Regions from separate parts of the Homo sapiens genome. Here all the other regions are linked to region 3. Evidence: promoter capture Hi-C in human tissues and cell types (Jung and others, 2019). All regions are on one chromosome and are shown on one strand. The core of a region is centred on a gene start or on the middle of the fragment in contact, and the rest is flanking DNA. Distances in the headings are between cores, read along the strand shown.

Region 1 (2,747 bases), core at 12-2,511, 200 kb before region 3:
TTGAAATAAATTTCATCACTGAGCAAGTTAGTTACTTTAACCTTCTAGAATCACCAAATACCTTAAATTCCCATTAAAAAGATAACAGCGGCAAATCTGTTGTGATCTGGGTTCTTATGATCCCTGGGGTTTTAGTTTCTCCTCCATACTGGCTGTGTAAGGAAGGCTTTTCATCTCAGGAAACACTGACAGTGAGTGGACCTGAGGCAAGAGCAGGAGGAAAGCTGCAAGGGGTATAGGTGTGTGTATGTGAGTATGTGTGTGTTTCTCAGCTGTAGAATTCTGAGAGGCAGTCAAAACTGCCAACCTTCCTTTGTAGGACTAACTTTAGGCCAAGAGAGATTGGCTGAGTGAATCCTTTGATGACAGCTGCTGCAACACCTTGATGGAGGTTTCTCTTGTCCCTGGCCACCAGACTTCACAGGGATTGCGCCAGTCTGTCTGACCATAATGCTACTACTGTACCAAGAGTGCCTAAATATTCATTTCTTAAATGTTTTTCAGCTTTACCATGTGCAAGGCCCTATACTAACCCTGAGACCAGCTAATTAAAGAGTTACTCTTCCTGACTCTTACCTCCTTATAACTGATGCTATTGACTGTTATTTTTATATGGCACCATCACGCCCTTCCCCCCAGACAATTATAAAGCTAGAGAATAAAAGCACAAAACAGAAAACGGCTGGGAAAATGGGTTGTGGATTACATCAGTCACAGAACGTCTTAGCAAACAGGTGGAGAGAAATCTCCCAAGTAATCTTTGAAAACCTGCAGAACAGTAGGGCCCAGAGAGGGGGCCATGTCTGATCCACCACCTTTACTGGTAATGAGTTTCCCTGGAACACATCCATGCTCATTTGTTTACAAATTGTTGTTGGGGAAAAGGCTTATGGAGTGCCTGCATAAACTGGCCATAAAAATATGGGACAATAAGTTGTGGAAAGCCACAAGAGGTCTCTGAGGAGGAAAGCCTTCTTATCGCCGTTATGTTCCCATGCTCTGAGTGCAACCTGCTCTCTTATCTATAAACACTGTGCTCAAGGAGAAAGACACTCCTCTGAAACACTGAAATGTGGACAGACGTACAGGCTCCTAGTTAAGCCCGCTCCTACTAGCTACTCTCCAATAAGTTAAAGATATGCTGTTTAAGCACAAAGGAGATTCATTTAAACCGCTACTGCTATAGATTACGCCTATGACATGCTGCCTCCCTTTCACTGTTTCGCCCTAAACATCTGCTTCTTAGATCTAAGTGATTGTACTCAATAAATCGTGTGGAGACCAGAACTCTGGGCCTTTTGCAGCCTCCATTGTGCAACTGGCCCCCTGGCTCCCATCTTTATGAACTCTTAACCTGTCTCTTCTCTTCCTTTGTTGCCACAGGGCTTTGGGTACCCTATGGGTGGTGTTGAGGCTGGTCCCCAACATATTGTCTATGGCTGCTTTCATGCTACAATGACAGAGCTGAATAGGTATGACAGAGAAGGTGTAGCCTATGACGCCTCAAATATTTACTATCTGGCCCTTTATAGAAAAAGGTTTCTAATTCCTGGTCTAAAGATAAAGGTAAGATACAAAAAAGTTCTGAACAGGCATGGTGACTCATGCTGTAATCCCAGCACTTTGGGAGGCCAATGCAGGAGGACTGCTTGAGCCCAGGAGTTCAAGGCTGCAGTGAGTCATGACTGAACCACTGCACTCCAGCCTGGGCGATGGAGCAAGACCCCATCTCTATTTAAAAAAAAAAAAAAGTTTTTTGATTCTGATAGAAGAATTCCAAATTATGATTTGGCAATAATACTATAGCATATAGTCCATATATCATAAGTGTAATTTCTCAAAGACTTGCCTACTGAGGCATACAAGCAAATATATAAGCCAATTTTCAGAAGTAAAAATTTAGTCACCACTAACTTTGAAATATTGTTTCATTCTAGAAATTGGCTGGTGGAAAAAAATCAAACATGAAGATTGCAGTTTTGTTTTGTTTTTTTCTGCTTATCATTTTTCAAACTGACTTTGGAAAAAATGAAGAAATTCCTAGGAAGCAAAGGAGGAAGATCTACCACAGAAGGTTGAGGAAAAGTTCAACCTCACACAAGCACAGATCAAACAGACAGCTTGGAATTCAGCAAACAACAGTTTTTACACCAGTAGCAAGACTTCCTATTGTTAACTTTGATTATAGCATGGAGGAAAAGTTTGAATCCTTTTCAAGTTTTCCTGGAGTAGAATCAAGTTATAATGTGTTACCAGGTAAGAGAACACTATGAGAGAGAGACAGAAAGAGGGAGGAGGGTGAGAGATGGTATGGGGAAAGAGAAGGAGAGAGGGAGAGAGGGAGAACATCTCCATGAAGATAATTTTCTAAAGAAAAATCCAGGTTATTATATTACTTTTTGGTTTAATCTACAAACATACATTTTAAAATAATTTAAAAAATAGGGCCAGGCGCGGTGGCTCACACCTGTAATCCCAGCACTTTGGGAGGCAGAGGTGGGCAGATCACGAGGTCAGGAGTTTAAGACCAGCCTGGCCAACATGTTGAAACCCCGTCTCTACTAAAAATACAAAAAATTAGCCGGGTGTGGTGGCATGTACCTGTAATCCCAGCTACTCGGGAGGCTGAGGCAGGAGAATCACTTGAACCTGGGAGGTGGAGGTTGCAGTGAGCAGAGATCACACCACTGCACTCCAGCCTGGGCGACAGAGCAAGACTCCGTCTCGAGATTAAAAACAAAACAAAA
Region 2 (2,705 bases), core at 80-2,579, 220 kb before region 3:
TGAGCTAGACACAGAAGTTCTCCAAGTCCCCACTAGATTAGCTAGACACAGAGCACTGATTGGTGCATTCACAAACCCTGAGCTAGACACAGGGTGCTGATTGGTGCATTTGCAAACCCTGAGCTAGACACAGAGTGCTGATTGGTGCATTCACAATCCCTGAGCTAGACACAAGGTGCTGACTGGTGCATTTACAAACCCTGAGCTAGACAGAGTGCTGATTGGTGCATTCACAATCCCTTAGCTAGACATAAAGGTTCTCCAAGTCCCCACCAGATCAGCTAGACACAGAACACTGATTGGTGCATTTACCAAACCTTGAGCTAGACACAGTGTGCTGATTGGTGCATTTACAAACCTTGAGCTAGACACGGAGTGCTGACTGGTATATCTACAATCCCTTAGCTAGACATAAAGGTTCTCCAAATCCCCACTAGACTCAAGAGCCCAGCTGGATGAGCCCAGCTGGATTCACCCAGTGGATCCCGCACCAGGCTGCAGGTGGAGCTGGCTGCCAGTCCCGCGCCCTGTGCCCGCACTCCTCAGCCCTTGGGCGGTCAGTGGGACTGGACGCGGTGGAGCAGGGGGCAGAGCTCGTCGGGGAGGCTCGGGCCTTGAAGGGGCCCGGCGGGGCGGGAGGCTCAGTCTTGGCGGGCTGCAGGTCCGGAGCCCTGCCCCGCGGGGAGGCAGCTAAGGCCCGACGAGAAATCAAGCACAGCGCCGGTGGGCCGGCACTGCTGGGGTACCCGACGCACCCTCCGCAGCTGCTGGCCGGGGTGCTAAGTCCCTCACTGCCCGCTCCCAGTACGGGGCCCGCCAAGCCCACGCCCACCCAGAACTCTAGCTGGCCTGCAAGTGCCACACGCAGCCCTGGTTCCCGCCCGTACCTCTCTCTCCACACCTCCCCTAAACCTGAGCGGCTCCGGCCTCGGCCATCCCAGGTCCGAGCCGGCTCCGGCCTCGGCCATCCCAGGAAGGAGCTCCCACAGCACAGCGTGGGCTGAAGGACTCCTCAAGCACGGCCAGAGTGGGCGCTGAGGCTGAGGAGGTGCCAAGAGCGAGCGAGGGCTGCGAGGGCTGCCAGCAGGCTGTCACCTCTTAAGATTTTCTTACTGTCTTTTAAATGCTTTAAGAATTTGTAAGATGGGCGTGGTTGCTCACACCGGTAATCCCAGCACTCTGGAGCGGGCTGAGGCGGGTGGATCACCTGAGGTCAGGAGTTTTGAGACCAGCCTGACCAACATGGTGAAACCACGTCTCCACTAAAAATACAAAAAAAAATTTAGCTGGGTGTGGTGGCATGCGCCTGTACTCCCAGCTACTGGGGAGGCTGAGGCAGGAGAATTGCTTGAACCCGAGAGGCGGAGGTTGCAGTGAGCTGAGATCGCGCCACTGCACATCAGCCTGAGCAACAACAGCGAAACTCCAACTCAAAAAAAAAAAAAAAAAAAATTTATAGTGATAACAATTTCTCTGGTCCTCACATTGGTGAGCCACGCTTTCTCCCTTTTTTCATGCATCAGTCTTGCCACAGCTTTTACTAGTTTTGTTTTTTAAAGAACAACTTTGGAATGTAGAATATTTGACAAAATTCAACACCCTCTCATGATAAAAAAAAAAACCCCTCAACAAATTAACTATAGAAAGAATGTACCTCAACATAAATAAAGACCATTTATTTATTTTTTTGAGACGGAGTCTTGCTCTGTTGCCCAGGCTGGAGTGCAGTGGTGCAATCGTGGCTCGCTGCAACCTCTGCCTCCAAGATTCAAGCGATTCTCGTGCCTCAGCCTCCCAAACAGCTGGGTTTACAGGCATGTGCCAGCACACCCGGCTAATTTTTGTATTTTTAGTAGAGACGGGATTTTGTCAAGTTAGCCAGGCTGGCCTTGAACTCTTGACCTCAAGTGATCCACGTGCCTCAGCCTCCCAAAGTGCTGGGATTATAGGCGTGAGCCACCACGCCCAGCCCAATAAAGATCATTTATGACAAGTGCACAGTTAATATGTCATGCTTAACGATGAAAAGCTGAAAGCATTTCTTCTAAGATCAGGAATAAGACAACAGTGCTGACTCACGCAACTTCTATTCAACATAAAACTGGTAGTCCTAGCCAGAGCAATTAGATAAGAGAAAGAAATAAAAAATATCTAAAATGGAAAGGATAAAGGTACATTTTCTCTGTTTGCAGATGACATCTTATATAGAGAAAATTCTAAAGACTGCACCAAAAAACTGCTAGAATTGATAAATGAATTCAATAAAGTTTGCAAGATACAAAATCAACATACAAAAATCAGTAGCTTTTCTGTATACTAACTAAACTACATGAAAAAGAAATCAAGAAAATTTACAATAGATACGTAATAACAAAATACTTAAGAATAAACATAACCAAGGAGGAGAAAGATCTCTACACTGAAACCTATAAATCGCTGATGAAAGAAACTTAAGACATAAGTAAATGAAAAGATATCTCTTGTTCATGGATTAGAAGCATTAATATTGTTAGAATGACTATACTACCCAAAGTGTTCTACAGATTTTATGTAATTCCTATCGAAATTTCAACTTTTTTTTTCAATGTCATTCTTAACAGAAACAGAAAAACGATCATAAAATTCGTAAGGAATCACAAAAGACCCTGAATAGCTAATGCAATCTTTTTTTTTTTTTTTTTTTTTTTTTTTTTGAGACAGGGTTT
Region 3 (2,820 bases), core at 138-2,637:
GCCCAGACTTTGGAGTAAAATTTTTGGGTCCCAATCCATCTCTGACAATTCCTTTCTCTGGAACCTTGGACAAGCTACCTAACTTCTCTGAGCCTCAGTTTCTTCAACTATAAAACAGGGCTAACAGTAGCACCTACCTCAGAGGAATGTCAAATTCTCCTGCAGTCTATATTAACTACTTTTCTTTTATCAACTTAGTTTTTTACCGAAGTTATTTTTCAAAGGAATTTTTATGTCATCGTAAACACAAAGTCATTATCAGTTGAGATGGTTAGCTGACCTACCAAAACAAATGCCATGAAACCAAACGGAGTTATTAAATCCCAACTAGAGATACTTCTGCATACTGGAGGCGGAATTATCTAGCTAGGGATATAGTCAAGACTTCCTCCTTGTCAGTCATCCACACAGACGACTGCGATTAAACGAGTTAATACCCTGCAATGCGTTTACAGCTGGGCGCCGTACGCGCTGCTCCCAACTCTAGGCCATCGTCATGACAGGATCAATGCCAGTTCATGCCCACTTTCTAGGGCTGGGAGTAGGAGACCGAGGATGTCTGTGGAGATTCACCCGCCTGGCCCGGGAACCCTGGCCAGCGGGCCCTGGGGGACTTGGGGTGGTCACGTACTGGACTCGGGACTTCTCTTCCCAGGGCGCCGGTGGGTCCTCACACGCTCGCCGCAGGGCCGCGATCTCAGCTTGCAAGGCGCGCACCTCTGCCAGCTCTGCGTCCATGGCGCGTTGCTGACCGCAGCCGGGCCGGCAGCGCAGCTGTCACTCCGACCTGCGCGCTTCACCCGCGCTTCAAGCCTCGCGCGCGCTCCCGGCGCGGACCATCCCAGAGCTCACGCGGAGGGGAGGCGGGAGAGCTCCGCGTGACCCCAGCGGCCCTGCACGTCCAACTCCGCTCTCGCACGAGAGCCTGAGTCCTCCACTTCCCCGCACACGTTTCCCTGGCTGTCTAAGCAGTGGCTATACTTTCTCTGGAGAGCGCGTTCTTTGCTACTCCAAGCCCAAGCGCTCCGCTGCTCACCCTAGCCGGCAGCCTTGGAGCCGCCCGGCCGCGTGCCTCACTAAAGAGGCAGGGCTGGGATCACGTGGAGGGGAGCGCCTCTTTATTTTTTTCACCTACTTCCTCTCTTACGCCGACCTAGTCCAGGAATTGGTACACACAGCGATAGTGTTCAATAGAAACTAGGGGATTTTGGTTTAGGCTCTTTTGCAGTCGTTGAGGGGGAGGTGACGGAGGCGTCAGGGAAGGTGGGAGGACGGAAAAGGAAATTAAAAGCTCTTGGGAACTGAATTGTGGTAACGGAACCTTAGGAGGCTGGGTTGGAAATCGAGTAGGAAGGAAGAGAGGATGCTCCGTTGGGACACGTGACCAGAAGTTAGGGGCTGCAGCGGCGCTGGCTTTAGGTGAACGACGTGGTGAGGAGTGGGTTTCGGGCATGAGAAGTCACAGGGCCGTTTCCTAGTCTCTCTTCACTTCTTTGGGTCTTCTCAGAGAAAGAAGGCTGCCGTGGGTAGGCTGGGGGCGGAGACTATCGGGAAGAGGTAGGCCGAAGTTCTGCCCAGAATACACGCCATGTGGTGGACGCTGGTTGGGAGTCTCTTCTGGAAAGAGTCTGTCAGCTCTTGGGGAAGGGAAGGGCGAGAGCTGAGCGCCTGCCGGGTGCTAAACGAAATGAGAGATACTATGATGGGCCCTAGTACCTCTGGAAAAGTTTTCCTGAGTCCCCTGTGATACAGCAACCTTCATAGTATAGTGTTAAGAATTCCAAGTTCTGAAGGTAGACCTGCATTATAATCCTGGATTCACTAATTTTCGGTATGGCATTGAGGAAGTGACTTAACCTCTTCTGCTCTCCTGAAAAATGGGAAACATGCAAACTACTTTGTACAATGCAGGCACATAGCAAAAACACAAGTCTGTATTCGCTATATCCCTTGATCTTTGTGTCTGAACCCCACTTTGCAGCACTTTTATTGTGACATAATATTGTGCCATTTGTTTTATTCTTTTGTGACTATAAGGAGCTCCTAGCCTCTCTATTCACTTCTTTGGGTCTTCTAGGAGGAAGAAGGCTGGGGTGGGTAGGTTGGGGGTGGAGACAATTAGGAAGAGGTAGGCTAGCTCTTTTTATCTTTTAGTGCGTTACATCCTGTTTCTGTCAGACTTTGTTAAAGACAGTAAATGAATGTATGAGTGAGTCAAGGAAAAACATCTAAAAACATGAATACATAAAATTAAGAGGGATAGAGTGTAATATTATGGCCATTTGGAGGAAAAAAACTCTGTCTGTACCTGTGTCTATATGGGTATGGGGTTGCTGTTCCAAAGTGCATTCATGAAAGATGTGGATGTAGGGCTTGGGCAAAACCTCGAAGACTAAAATTTGGAAGTAATACAATAGGAAGTGAAATACAGATCCAGGAGACGGATTTGATACAGAAGGTTCAGAGGAAGTAGTTGTTTTGTTAGATTTTAGAAGAACTAAGGGAAAGAACTCTTCTCTGTATACAGAAAATTACTTTTCCCACTGAAACACACCCAAGTATATGCCCAGCCTTCATGAAAGTGAACAGAGAAACGAAGCGCCTTTATGTGGGTGGCCTTAGCCAGGACATTTCTGAGGCAGACCTACAAAATCAGTTCAGCAGATTTGGAGAAGTTTCGGATGTGGAGATCATCACACGGAAAGATGACCAAGGTAATTTATGGTCCTTCACTGGGCAGTTATAGGCAGACATAACTCAGGTTAAGTGCTAGAAAATAAAACAACCCCAAGATAAATGTTAGCTCTGAACACCAAAAGT

Evidence for each region. The method cuts DNA at HindIII sites, captures the fragments that hold promoters and counts their contacts. A contact is called where the count stands out against the background at its distance.
Region 1: a fragment that was not itself captured here is called in contact with the fragment with the promoter of NOL8 in region 3 in 1 of the 25 tissues and cell types used here (IMR-90 fibroblasts).
Region 2: a contact is called between a fragment that was not itself captured here and the fragment with the promoter of NOL8 in region 3, in 1 of the 25 tissues and cell types used here (H1 embryonic stem cells).

Annotation. Positions count from the first base shown.
Region 1 is chr9:92,522,084-92,524,830 of GRCh38, reverse strand. All of the region lies in intron 5 of CENPP (centromere protein P), which reads right to left. It overlaps ECM2 (extracellular matrix protein 2), which reads left to right. Exons shown (of 10, transcript NM_001393.4): 2 at 1,938-2,256. The coding sequence starts at 1,965. Among named protein-coding and RNA genes, the nearest start is that of MIR4670, 4.6 kb to the left of the region's middle. The HindIII fragment of the contact is 7,872 bases long and covers 1-2,747 here.
Region 2 is chr9:92,543,460-92,546,164 of GRCh38, reverse strand. The region is part of intron 5 of CENPP (centromere protein P); the gene reads right to left. It also overlaps a transcript of ECM2 not described here. Among named protein-coding and RNA genes, the nearest start is that of ECM2, 8.8 kb to the right of the region's middle. The HindIII fragment of the contact is 5,415 bases long and covers 1-2,705 here.
Region 3 is chr9:92,323,917-92,326,736 of GRCh38, reverse strand. It overlaps NOL8 (nucleolar protein 8), which reads left to right and starts at 1,387. Exons shown (of 17, transcript NM_017948.6): 1 at 1,387-1,431; 2 at 2,528-2,714. The coding sequence starts at 2,576. CENPP (centromere protein P) reads right to left here and starts at 784. Exons shown (of 8, transcript NM_001012267.3): 1 at 632-784. The coding sequence starts at 738. RefSeq lists enhancers at 1,179-1,288, 1,319-1,438, 1,217-2,105. The HindIII fragment of the contact is 17,330 bases long and covers 1-2,820 here.